Linked DNA regions of Homo sapiens: regions 1, 2 and 3 are each linked to region 4. The links are contacts of gene promoters, found by promoter capture Hi-C in blood cells and fetal thymus (Javierre and others, 2016). All regions are on one chromosome and are shown on one strand. The core of a region is centred on a gene start or on the middle of the fragment in contact, and the rest is flanking DNA. Distances in the headings are between cores, read along the strand shown. Region 1 overlaps SPACA9 (sperm acrosome associated 9). Region 2 overlaps AIF1L (allograft inflammatory factor 1 like). Region 3 overlaps GTF3C4 (general transcription factor IIIC subunit 4). Region 4 holds the start of MED27 (mediator complex subunit 27).

Region 1 (2,700 bases), core at 55-2,554, 800 kb before region 4:
GCTGTGTCACCCAGGCTGGAGTGCAGTGGTGCGATCTCGGCTCACTGCAGCTTCTGCCTCCAGGGTTCATGTGATTCTCATGCCTCAGCCTCCCGAGTCACTGGGACTACAGGCGCGTACCACCACAACTGGCTAATTTTGGGATTTTTAGTAAAGATGGGGTTTCACCATGTTGGCCAGGCTGGTCTCCACTCCTGGCCTCAGGTGATCCACTCACCTCGGCCTCTCAAAGTGCTGGGATTACCGGCATGAGCCGCTGTGTCTGGCCTCTATATTTAACATTTTTTTGAGTTAAAAAATTGAGGAAACATTTTACCAAAATTAGAAAAAAAAAGTGTTTTTTTTCATTTTTTTGTTTTTGTTTTTGTTTTGTTTTGTTTTGTTTTTGAGACGGAGTCTCACTCTGTCGCCCAGGCTGGAGTACAGTGGCGCAATATCGGCTCACTGCAACCTCCACCTCCCAGATTCAAGCAATTCTCCTGCCTCAGCCTCCCGAGTAGCTGGGATTACAGATGCGCACCACCACGCCCAGCTATTTTTGTATTTTTAGTAGAGACAGGGTTTCACCATGTTGGTCAGGCTGGTCTCAAACTCCTGACCTCATGATCCACCTGCCTCGGCCTCCCAAAGTGCTGGGATTACAGGCATGAGCCACCACGCCTGGCCAGAAAAAAATGTTTTTAAAGGATGCTGCCAGCAAGGGTTGCTTGTTCCTCCCGAGCCTGTTTCTCCTCTGCAGTTCTGAGCCCTGCGCCTGTTCCCACCCATCTTGGGGCAGTTACCCTTCCACAAGCTGACTCCCTCCAAGCTGTGAAGGGCCGGCCTGTGTGTGTTCCTAACTGCACTGCAGCTCCAGCCCCTAACATCCTGGAAGGATCATTTGGTCTTGAGGCCTCCAAGTCCTGCACAGCAAACCTGGACAGCAGCTAACCCTGGAGGAGATGCAGGTTAAATAAAAACATCTGCGAAAGCACCTGGCGGTGTGCTTGGCATCCCACAGTTCCTCAACCCCCAGTGGAATCTGATGGGAAGGACAGGATCCCTCTGGTCACCAGTAAATCCCTGGTTTTCTATGGGTGACCACTGAACCTGCGTCACAGATGAGGACACTGAGGCACAGAAAGGTGAAGTCATTGGCCTGAGATCACAGCAGTGGCACATGGTAGAGCTAGGACTTAAGCCCTGGCCGGCTGAGTTTTAAACCTGCCTCTTTATTCACTTGTTGTTATTCACTTACATATTTGGTAGAGAAACGAATGAAGGACTCATTACATCATTTAGGTTCTGGGTCCGGGTCCTAATTCTGGCGCAAACGTCCTTCCCCTCTCTGGGCCCCAGTGGTTTCATCTTTTGTGAGAGGGGACTGGGCTTGTTGCCCCTCGGCCGGGGTGGGGGTCGGGAGCCCCACCTGTCCAATGCTGGAGATGGGCCGGATCTTGTCGTGGGCGTTCTCCCTGCAGTGCTCCAGAGCGGCGGTGAAGGTGAGCTGCTGCTGCTGGAAGAGCTTGTACTTCTGCTCGATGCTGCGAAGGGATTCTTTCACCTCATTCATTGTCTTCCTCTGTGGTCATTTACAGGAGAAGAGGAATCTATGGGGAGACAGAGGATAGTGATGAGGTCCTGGGACCCAATGCTCGGATCCAGCTCCGGAGGGAAGGACTGTCAGGGGAGAGGGATACCCATGGCCCCTCTCACTGGAGCGCCTTGTGAGTGCCTCCCCACAGAAGAAAGCGAGGCCCTGGGAGGCTGCACACTTGTCCAGAGCCCCCAGGCTGTCCATGACAGAGCTGAGCCTGACCTCGAAATTTACCCTCCATGAACACATTCTTTGCCAGGAAATGTGACTTCTTCCCTCAGCTGTGGACAGAGTTTCTCTGGTTCTGTTTCTCCAGATGTGGGTATCTACACACACGCGCGCACACACACACGCACACACATGCATGTGCACACACATACAGGTACATGCATACACACACACACGCACGCGTGTACACACACGCCCTCCAATCCCTTGCTGTGGTGTCAGCAAAACCTGGGATCAAGGGATATGCCACAGGATATAAAACCAGGAGATGATCAGTTTGGATCAAATTATTGTAAAGCTGCTCTGCAACTGGTGGGAAAGTCTGGGAATTCCTTCCCATGGATTAAGCGGGGAGAAGAATCAATACTAGACTGTCTAGTTTGAGAAGATGTAAGTCTGCCTGCTCTGGGCTGGGGGCAGGAGCCTTGGTCTCAGGTTTGCGCATTCTCAGGGCAGGGCTGGTGGCTAGTGGACTGCCCCCTGACCCTGTTAATTGCTGGAATGCCATGATCAGTAACATGGAGGCTGTGGGGAGGACTCTCTCTTGGCGCCTCACAGACTGTCCCTGCTGTGATTTAGGTGCTCCACAGAGCATCTACAATCCTCCTGTGAGCAGAAAAGTCTGTGGGTGTGTGCTCCATGACATCACAGTTTTGCTGAGCGCGTGCAAAATGCTCCAGACCACAGATTTCTATTCATGTTAGAGCTGGAAGGGACTGAGAAAACCAGCTCCCTTGAGCTGCTATGGGGAAAGTGAGGCTCAGAGGGAAAGGTTTTGCCCAGGGTGTCACAGCAAATTTGTGCCCAAGACACCCTGGGTCCTAGGCTTCCTTACGTCTAACCAGCATCGTCAGTGCTGCCACACTCGGCTGCCCCTCCACTGCCTCCAGAACAAA
Region 2 (2,700 bases), core at 199-2,698, 960 kb after region 4:
GCTGCCTCTCAGCTGCCTGCACAGGTGTGGCCAGAGAGCAGGACTGGAGGGTTCCTTCTGGTACCTTCTTGAAGGGCTCCCAATGCCAAGCTCCTTTCCTTCCCACCTTCACATCACTGAGGATGAGAAGAGGTGTGGAATGAGTGGGGATCAGCTGGGGCAGCGGGGCCCCGAGTGGCTGTGTCCTGGGTGACACCAGAGCACTGGAGCCATGGCACTGTCCAAGGAAACCCGAAAGAGGCCCTGCAGCCTTGTCCCTACTCCAAGGTCTTCTCAGAGTGGCCTGGGGTCCTCGTCAGAGCCAGGTCAGTGAGCCTGAACTTGGCTTGGAGACTTTCTGAAAGGATGGAGAGTGCTGGTTCCTCCAAGTGAGGGGAACACAGGCTGGAAGCCTCCCTGCCCTGGCCCTGCCCCCTCTAGTTTTTGGTTTGATGTCAGCCCTTCTGCACAGGGAGCGGGGAAGGAGGGAAGAAGAGAGGGAGGGGACCCAAGGCTCAGGATTCCCCGACCCAGAGCCCCTTTAAGGCAGATAATTTGTGCTTTACAAAGACATTGATGAAAACACAAACAAACCCTCAATGACCAAACAAATGAGAGAGAGAGAGATCACAGTGTGTCAAGAAGGGCAGCAAGATCGGGAGGGAGGTATGGGGTGGGAAGGCTGGGGAGTCCAGGCGGGGTCCTCAGGGCAGGCTAGCAATGTCTCTCTCTGGAGGGGGGCCAACTGGCTTGGGGCTGCTCTCGTTGGCTTTTCCTTCAAACATCATGACTCTGGTTTGGAGATGGAGAAAAGAAAAAAAGAAAGAAAAACAAGATTAGGATCCTTCCCTCATCCAGGGAAAGATCATCCCAGCCTCATGTCAGCAGGGTCCTCAACAGAATTTAAATCTGTTCTCCAGTGGGATCCTTGCAGAAGCCCAAGACAGCAGCTCCAAGGAAGGGGCTGCTAGTCCCATTTTACAGAGGAGAAAATGGAGGCGCAAAGTGGTGATATGACTCCTCAGAACCACACAGGCGGTCCAGGGCAGAGGCTGGGTACGACTCCAGGCTTCTGACTTCCAGGCCATACCCTTCCCTTAACCACACTGCCTGGAGGAGGCTGAGCCAGGCTGGGCCACGCCTCTGCGCAAAGATCTTCAAAAACCTGCCCACTGCTCTGAGAGTGGTGTCTGGGGAGTAGAGGGTAGGGGCTCAGCGTATAACCTCTAGGGCAACTGCCTAGATTCAAATGCCAGCCCTGCTACTTCCCAGCCGGGTGGCTCAAGCAAGACACTTGACCTCTCTGATCCTTGGCGTTTCTCCCTGGAAGTGGGGTGCTAGAAGATCTGGCCAGATTGGACCGTGGGCTCATGGGCCAGGTACTCAGTCTCCTTGGGCCTCAACAAGCTCCTTTGTAAAATGAGACAGGTATATTTTACATTCGTACTTTAAAAAAGTGAATCTTATTTCATAAAAGCCAAGTAAGTGTTATTTTCTGTTTTCTTTTTTTTTTTTTTTTTCTTTTGAGACAGAGTTTTGTTCTTGCCGCCCAGGCTGGAGGGCAATGTCACGATCTCTGCTCACTGCAACCTCCGCCTCCTGGGCTCAAGTGATTCTCCTGCCTCAGCCTCCCGAGTAGCCAGGATTACAGGCGTGAGCCACAACACCCAGCTAATTTTTGTATTTTTAGTAGAAACGGGGTTTCACCATGTTGACCAGGCTAGTCTCGAACTCCTGACCTCAGGTGATCCACCGGCCTCAGCCTCCCGAAGCGCTGGGATTAAAGGCGTGAGCCAGGGCACCTGGCAGAGTGTTATTTTCAGCTGTGACAAATGACAATGAGACTGCCCTGGGGCAATGCTGTAACGCTCTTCAATGGGGCAGCACCCACAATGTGCTACCACGTAGTAGGTGTTTGCCATCAGCCACACAAGGCTGAAATCTTCATAAGTGTCATTTCACTAGCCCTCAGGACATCACGGAAGACATGATTATCACCCCTATTTTATAGATGAAGAAACTGAGACTCGCAGACCTAAGGTAACTTGCCCAGGGTCATTTTGGTAGCAAGTAATAGCATCAAGATGCAAACCCTGCCTCCCTTTGGGGCCAATTTTTGACTCTATTTTATGCTTACAAGCCTGTGGGGGTAGTGGAGGTGCTTTACAAATGGGGAAACTGCCAGGCATGGTGGCTCACGCCTGTAATCCTAGCACTTTGGGAGGCCGAGGGGGTCTGATCTCTTGGAAGTCAGGAGTTTGAGACCAACCTGGCCAACATGGCGAAACCCCATTTCTACTAAAAATACAAAAATTAGTTGGGTGTGGTGGCGCACACCTGTAATCCTGGCTACTCGGGAGGCTGAGGCAGGAGAATCACTTGAGCTCAGGAGGCGGAGGTTGCAGTGAGCTGAGATCATGTCACTGCACTCCAGCCTGGGTGACAGAGCGAGATCTCAAAAAGAAAAAAAAAAAAAAGGAAAACTAAGGCTCGGAAAGTTTCAACAGATTTATCACCATTATCACCATCACCACCATCATCATCATCACAGTTGCCACTTACTGAGTACTGATTCTGCCTGACTCTGCTACAAGCTAATTTCCCCTACAGGGTACATATTAATATGACCATTTGGGCCGGGTGTGGTGGCTCACGCCTATAATCCTAACATTTTGGGAGGCTGAGGAGGGCAGATTACCTGAGGTCAGGAGTTTGAGACTA
Region 3 (2,700 bases), core at 190-2,689, 600 kb before region 4:
TTGAGACCAGCCTGGGCAACATAGTGAGGCCCCATCTCTACTAAAAATAGCAAAAAATTAGCCAGGCGTGGTGGTGGGCACCCATAACCCCAGCTACTTGGGAGGCTGAGGCAGGAGAACTGCTTGAATCTGGGAGGCAGAGGTTGAAGTGAGCCGAGATTGCGCCACTGCACTCCAGCCTGGGTGATGGAGCCAGGCTTTGCAAAAAAAAAAAAAAAAATCCCCCAAATGGTACATAAATAACAAAAACTACAGACCATTAAGCCTAACAGAAAATTCCTCAATGTATTAACAAATGAATAGTTTGTGCAGACAGGAGTGATGATTAGAAACAAGCAAAGGATGGCTGGGCGTGGTGGCTCACGCCTGTAATCCCAGCACTTTGGGAGGCTGAGGTGGGCGGATCATGAGGTCAGGAGATCGAGACCATCCTGGCTAACACGGTGAAACTCCGTCTCTACTAAAAATACAAAAAAATTAGCCGGGCATGGTGGTGGGTGCCTGTAGTCCCAGCGACTCAGGAGGCTGAGGAAGGAGAATGGCATGAACCCGGGAGGTGGAGCCTGCAGTGAGCCAAGATGGCACCACTGCACTCCAGCCTGGGCAACAGAGCAAAACTCCATCTCAAAAAAAAAAAAAAAAAAAAAGGGTAACTGGAATAGTCTATTCTTATTCTCTTTTCTGCTAAAATTGCTAGATGACATAATAGATAAGCAAATAAAATGAAATGTAAATAGAAAATTGTCCACAAAATAGAGAACTAACTTTTCCTACAGTGTGTTTCACAGTACACTACTCCCTTTAATTGTCCCTTGAAAAATAGTTCTATGGCCAAACAAGCTTTGGAAATACTATATTTATATGTCGTTCTCCCTTGAAAAGTGACACGAGGACACTAAATGCCTCGGCCAGGGAACTACTATAAAGACCTACTGAGCCACAGGAAGCCAAACTTTTTTGCCTTTTTAAACAACAGAGCCTTTTTTTTGGAGGTGAGGGAGGCAGTTATTACCCTTTATTATCCAAAAGTATGTGGAATACTTTGGGAATGGTGTTTTAGGCAGTGTATCTTGATTTTAGGAAGGCATTTTAAAGTAGTCTCTTGGATACACTATGAAACTTGCTGGAGAATCATAGACTGAAAATGCCAATTAAATGAGGTGTAGGTGGCTGGCTTGGAAATAAAACAATGCTAATCAAAGCCCGGTGCTTTCTACAGGCAGATGAAATTTGTGAGATGACATAATGAAGCACAACATAATAACTGAAAATCTGTGCTATGACGCCAGACTACCTGGGTTCAAATGCTGGCTCTGCTACATACCAGCTCTGTGTGCGCAAATTGCTTAAACCTTCTGACCTTAATTTCCTCATTTATAAATGAGACTAATACATGTCCCAGAAAGTTAGGAAGGTTAAATAAGTCAATATATCAAAGCATATATTAAGCGCTCAATAAAGTTACCTATGATAATTGTTAATATACTCTGAGGACTAAGTTAAAAAAAAAACTTTTGAGATTCCTCTCTGTCACCCTGGCTGCAGTGCAGCTGGCGTGACTACAGCTCACTGCCGCCTCAACCTCCCGGGGTCAAGTGATCCTTTCACCTCAGCCTCCTGAGTAGCTAGGACCACAGGTGCACACCACCATGCCTGGCTAATTTTTAAAATTTTTTGTAGAGATGCGGTCTCTCTCTGTTGCCCAGGCTGGTCTTTAACTCCTGGGCTCAAGCGATCCTCCGGCCTTGGCCTTCCAAAGTGTTGGGATTACAGGTGTGAGCCACAGCACTCAGCCTTAAGTAAATGTTAATAAGATATTTAATGCTAATAAAAGTATGCAAAAATGCAAGGTAGACATAAAGTTGTGTACCAAATGAAAGGTAGATATAAAATTGTTCATCAAATCCTTTAATACTGTGAACTAAGCAATACTCCTTAGAATAGGTTAAATTTGCTACAAATAAAAGCTACTGTAGAAGTAAACTCACAGGATTGGTAACCCAAAGCAGCAGCACGGGATGAAATAAAGGAAGCTTAAGCAACCCTTGGTCCTACTCATTGTGGGAAGAATTCTTGACAGGATGGAGAGCAGTACAGATCTTGACTGGTAGGAAAAAGTCTTAGGGTTTTGTGTAGCAATTTCTGACATATGTTTCAACTAGACTACTGAACCTCCCTCCAACTCTCCCTATCACAAAACTGTTAACAAATCAAGTATTCAGATGCCCAAGGAGTATACTTAAAAAGTCCAGCTCCCAGAGGCCTGCCCGCAGCCAATCATTTAATTGTACACCATCCAGTTTCCAGTTGACCACTATTAGGTTGGTGCAAAAGTAATTGCGGTTTTCACCATCACTTTTAATGGCAAATACTTTTAATACTAACTGTTAGGCATTTTGTAAGCACCTGACAAAAATTCACTTGAAGCTTTTAGACAGTAAGCTTCTTGAGGACAGGTAATAGAGTCCAAAGACAGGCAACAGTTATTTAACTTAATGTAGCAGATGAAGTTAATACTTTCTAAGGCTCCTAACAATTGATGCACAATACAATTCGGTACACAAATATTATCAGAATTTGGAACTATACACAAATGTCTCACTAGATGAGTCACTAAATCAGTAGTCCAATGGGAAAAACAATTCTGACATTCTTAAATCACTATTTCATTGCTTTTCAGATTTATACTGTCCACCTTTA
Region 4 (2,700 bases), core at 58-2,557:
ATCTTCCTCTCTACAGCCTTCCTACAACTGGTTATTGTTATTGCCACTAGTTAACCAAGGAGGACTCTTGTCTTGGGTTGACATGAAGGTGAGTTGAAGGTCACAATCATGATCTGCCTCCTGCTCTCCTCTTCTCTGCTCCAAGCTATGCAACCCCAGCTCCTCTAAGGAAAGAACATGAGGACTTGGGCAGGTTCCCTTTAGTAAAAAGATAATAAATTTTCAGAAACCTGTCTATAGCCAACAGGACAAAGAGACATTGAATTTTTCCATAAAGCCAGATTTGGCCAACATTTTGTTGGTTTTATTTAAATCCCAAACCTTCTCTTTCTTCCACAACCTCTATGCTATGTATGTTATTTTCAGAGGTGTGTGTTCACTGTAAACCAGCCACCATTCTACTTTCTGTCTCTAACATTTTGACTACCCTAAACACCTCATATAAGTGGAGTCACACAGAATTTTGTTTTTTTGTGACTGGCTTATTTCACTTAGCATAATGTCTTCAAGTTTCCTCCAGGTAGCATATGTCAGAATTTTCTTGCTTAAGCCTGAAGAATTTTTCATTGTATGCCAGTATCACACTTTGTTTATTCATCAGTTTATGGACACTTGGGTTTCCCCTGCCTTTTGGCTATTTGGTGAATAATGCTGTTATGAACATGTGTACAGGTATTGAGTCCCTGCTTTCGCTTCTTTTGGGTATATGCCCAGAAGTGGAATCTCTGGATCATTATTTTCCTCTTCTTAATTAATAAGCATCTTGGGGGACGATACTTTGAGATTACCTAAAAAGCCTGTTATTTTTCTGACACTTTCACCCACTAGTTTTAGCATCCATCGATTTCTATCTGAATCAATTATTCTAATGGCTGTCAAATGGCAATTTTCTAATTCCATCACTCTTTCTGCATTTATGAGCTGGCATTCTATTGGAAAGAAGAAACTTTCCTTCTCCCCGCTTTATTTATGAATATGGACTCATTTTATTGAATGGGCTATGTTCCTTTCCTTTTTACACTATTGCTCTGAGCAATTCTTTTCCCTATGATTCCCCAGAGTGCAAGTTTGGGGAAATGCGGGAACTTTCTGTATTTCTTTGTCACCATTAAGCAAACCGGGAGTGCAACCTGACTTCCCCAAGTTGAGAAAAATCACTTTCCTGCCCATGCATTAGTTTAGCTCAAGGGGAAACCCTTTTTCGAAAGTGCTTTCTGGGTAGCCCCGCGCGAACTGCATTTCCCAGAGGTCTTCGGAGATACGTCATCAGCGAGCGCGGCTTTTTTGCTTGCGAAGCCGGCTTTGGAGAGCTGCTGTGGCGGCGGCAACATGGCGGACGTGATAAATGTCAGTGTGAACCTGGAGGCCTTTTCCCAGGCCATTAGTGCCATCCAGGCGCTGCGCTCCAGCGTGAGCAGGGTGTTCGACTGCCTGAAGGATGGGATGCGGAACAAGGAGACGCTGGAGGGCCGGGAGAAGGCCTTTATTGCGCACTTCCAGGACAACTTACATTCGGTCAACCGGGACCTCAAGTAGGTACCGGCTGAAGGGGCCGGGGTCGGGGACCGGCCCCGCTCCGACCCTGCCCCTACGTCGCTCGAGTCTTCCCAGGCAGGGGCTGTTCTCCGTTTCCCTTGATCCCTGTTCTTTCTCTTCTTGTTCTCCAAGCCTCTGCCTGTCCCTCAGGGACATCTTAACACCATCCCCGCTTTCTCGTCTTGCTTCTCCTGGCCTCCTGGTCCTGTTTGTCTTCCGCCATCCTCGACCTCTTCTGTGGCGGTTCCATTCCTAACAAGGAGGCATGCTTTTCCCATGAACTTCCACTTCTCTGAGCTTGGCAGGTTTCTCACCTGTAGGCCCTCTGTGCCCCATCACGTCTGATCCGAATGTAGTAATAGTACAGACAGGACCTGGTCAGTCGGCTCCAAACCCAAGTGCACCCGATCTGATTAGCCCCAATTCCCCGGCCCTGAACTTGGACTTCATCAGTTCCACCACCACCCACCCGCAACCACGACGGACCGGCCAGGCCTTGAGCTGTCTTCACCTTTTCCCCTAACCGCTCCCAAACCACCTGATCAGTTTCCTCACTCCCACTCCTGTGGGAGTTCCTTCCGCAGTAGAGACCTACTCTCTAATCTCTTAACCAGTTTAATTACTTATGCTTAACGCCCCTGCTTCTTAATTTGTAGTCTTTTAGGGTTAAGGATTCCACTTTTCCTCCTCTTCCTTACAAAGTACCTTCTTCACTTACACTTTTTAAGTGTTGTAAGAATTAAATGAGAGGATGTTTGTAAAGGGCCTGGCACATAGTAGGCACTTCTTGATTGCTTAGGTCCTGAACTTGCCTTCTGTTTTATAAGAGAGTCAGTCCTTCCCAGGAAGGTTAGAATTTCAGGATTTTTGCCTTTTACTTCTCAGAACTGACCTGAGTAGGGGAAAGCATTTGGTGAGCTAGTCATCCTTTGATTTCTGGACTGGTTGGATTTTTGTTTTTTCAACTTGGTCTCCTTAGTAACCAGATGGAAAGAGGAGGTAGGATGGAGGAGGAGGAGGAGGAGGTGGCCAAATGATGGGTGCCTTTTTGTTTTCCCCCTAAGTAGTTGCCGTAAATCACACAGCCCTCCTCAACGCCCACATCCGCTTGCTGTTCTCTGGCACCGCGCCGAGCACCAGTTAATACTTTCTCTGCTTCAGGGG

Evidence for each region. The method cuts DNA at HindIII sites, captures the fragments that hold promoters and counts their contacts. A CHiCAGO score of 5 or more calls a contact.
Region 1: a fragment that was not itself captured here is called in contact with the fragment with the promoter of MED27 in region 4 in 1 of 17 cell types (activated CD4 T cells); the score reaches 5.0 in activated CD4 T cells.
Region 2: a fragment that was not itself captured here is called in contact with the fragment with the promoter of MED27 in region 4 in 1 of 17 cell types (non-activated CD4 T cells); the score reaches 5.2 in non-activated CD4 T cells.
Region 3: a contact is called between a fragment that was not itself captured here and the fragment with the promoter of MED27 in region 4, in 2 of 17 cell types (total B cells and naive CD8 T cells). The highest score is 5.7, in total B cells.

What each region holds. Positions count from the first base shown.
Region 1 is chr9:132,882,800-132,885,499 of GRCh38, reverse strand. It overlaps SPACA9 (sperm acrosome associated 9), which reads right to left. Exons shown (of 4, transcript NM_001316897.2): 2 at 1,409-1,589. The coding sequence starts at 1,552. Among named protein-coding and RNA genes, the nearest start is that of SPACA9, 5.3 kb to the right of the region's middle. The HindIII fragment of the contact is 3,076 bases long and covers 1-2,700 here.
Region 2 is chr9:131,118,306-131,121,005 of GRCh38, reverse strand. It overlaps AIF1L (allograft inflammatory factor 1 like), which reads right to left. Exons shown (of 6, transcript NM_031426.4): 6 at 1-771. The coding sequence ends at 684. Among named protein-coding and RNA genes, the nearest start is that of NUP214, 5.9 kb to the left of the region's middle. The HindIII fragment of the contact is 3,545 bases long and covers 1-2,700 here.
Region 3 is chr9:132,673,843-132,676,542 of GRCh38, reverse strand. The region is part of intron 1 of GTF3C4 (general transcription factor IIIC subunit 4); the gene reads right to left. Among named protein-coding and RNA genes, the nearest start is that of GTF3C4, 4.7 kb to the right of the region's middle. The HindIII fragment of the contact is 1,193 bases long and covers 843-2,035 here.
Region 4 is chr9:132,078,474-132,081,173 of GRCh38, reverse strand. It overlaps MED27 (mediator complex subunit 27), which reads left to right and starts at 1,307. Exons shown (of 8, transcript NM_004269.4): 1 at 1,307-1,532. The coding sequence starts at 1,330. RefSeq lists an enhancer at 1,131-1,410. The HindIII fragment of the contact is 6,112 bases long and covers 1-2,700 here.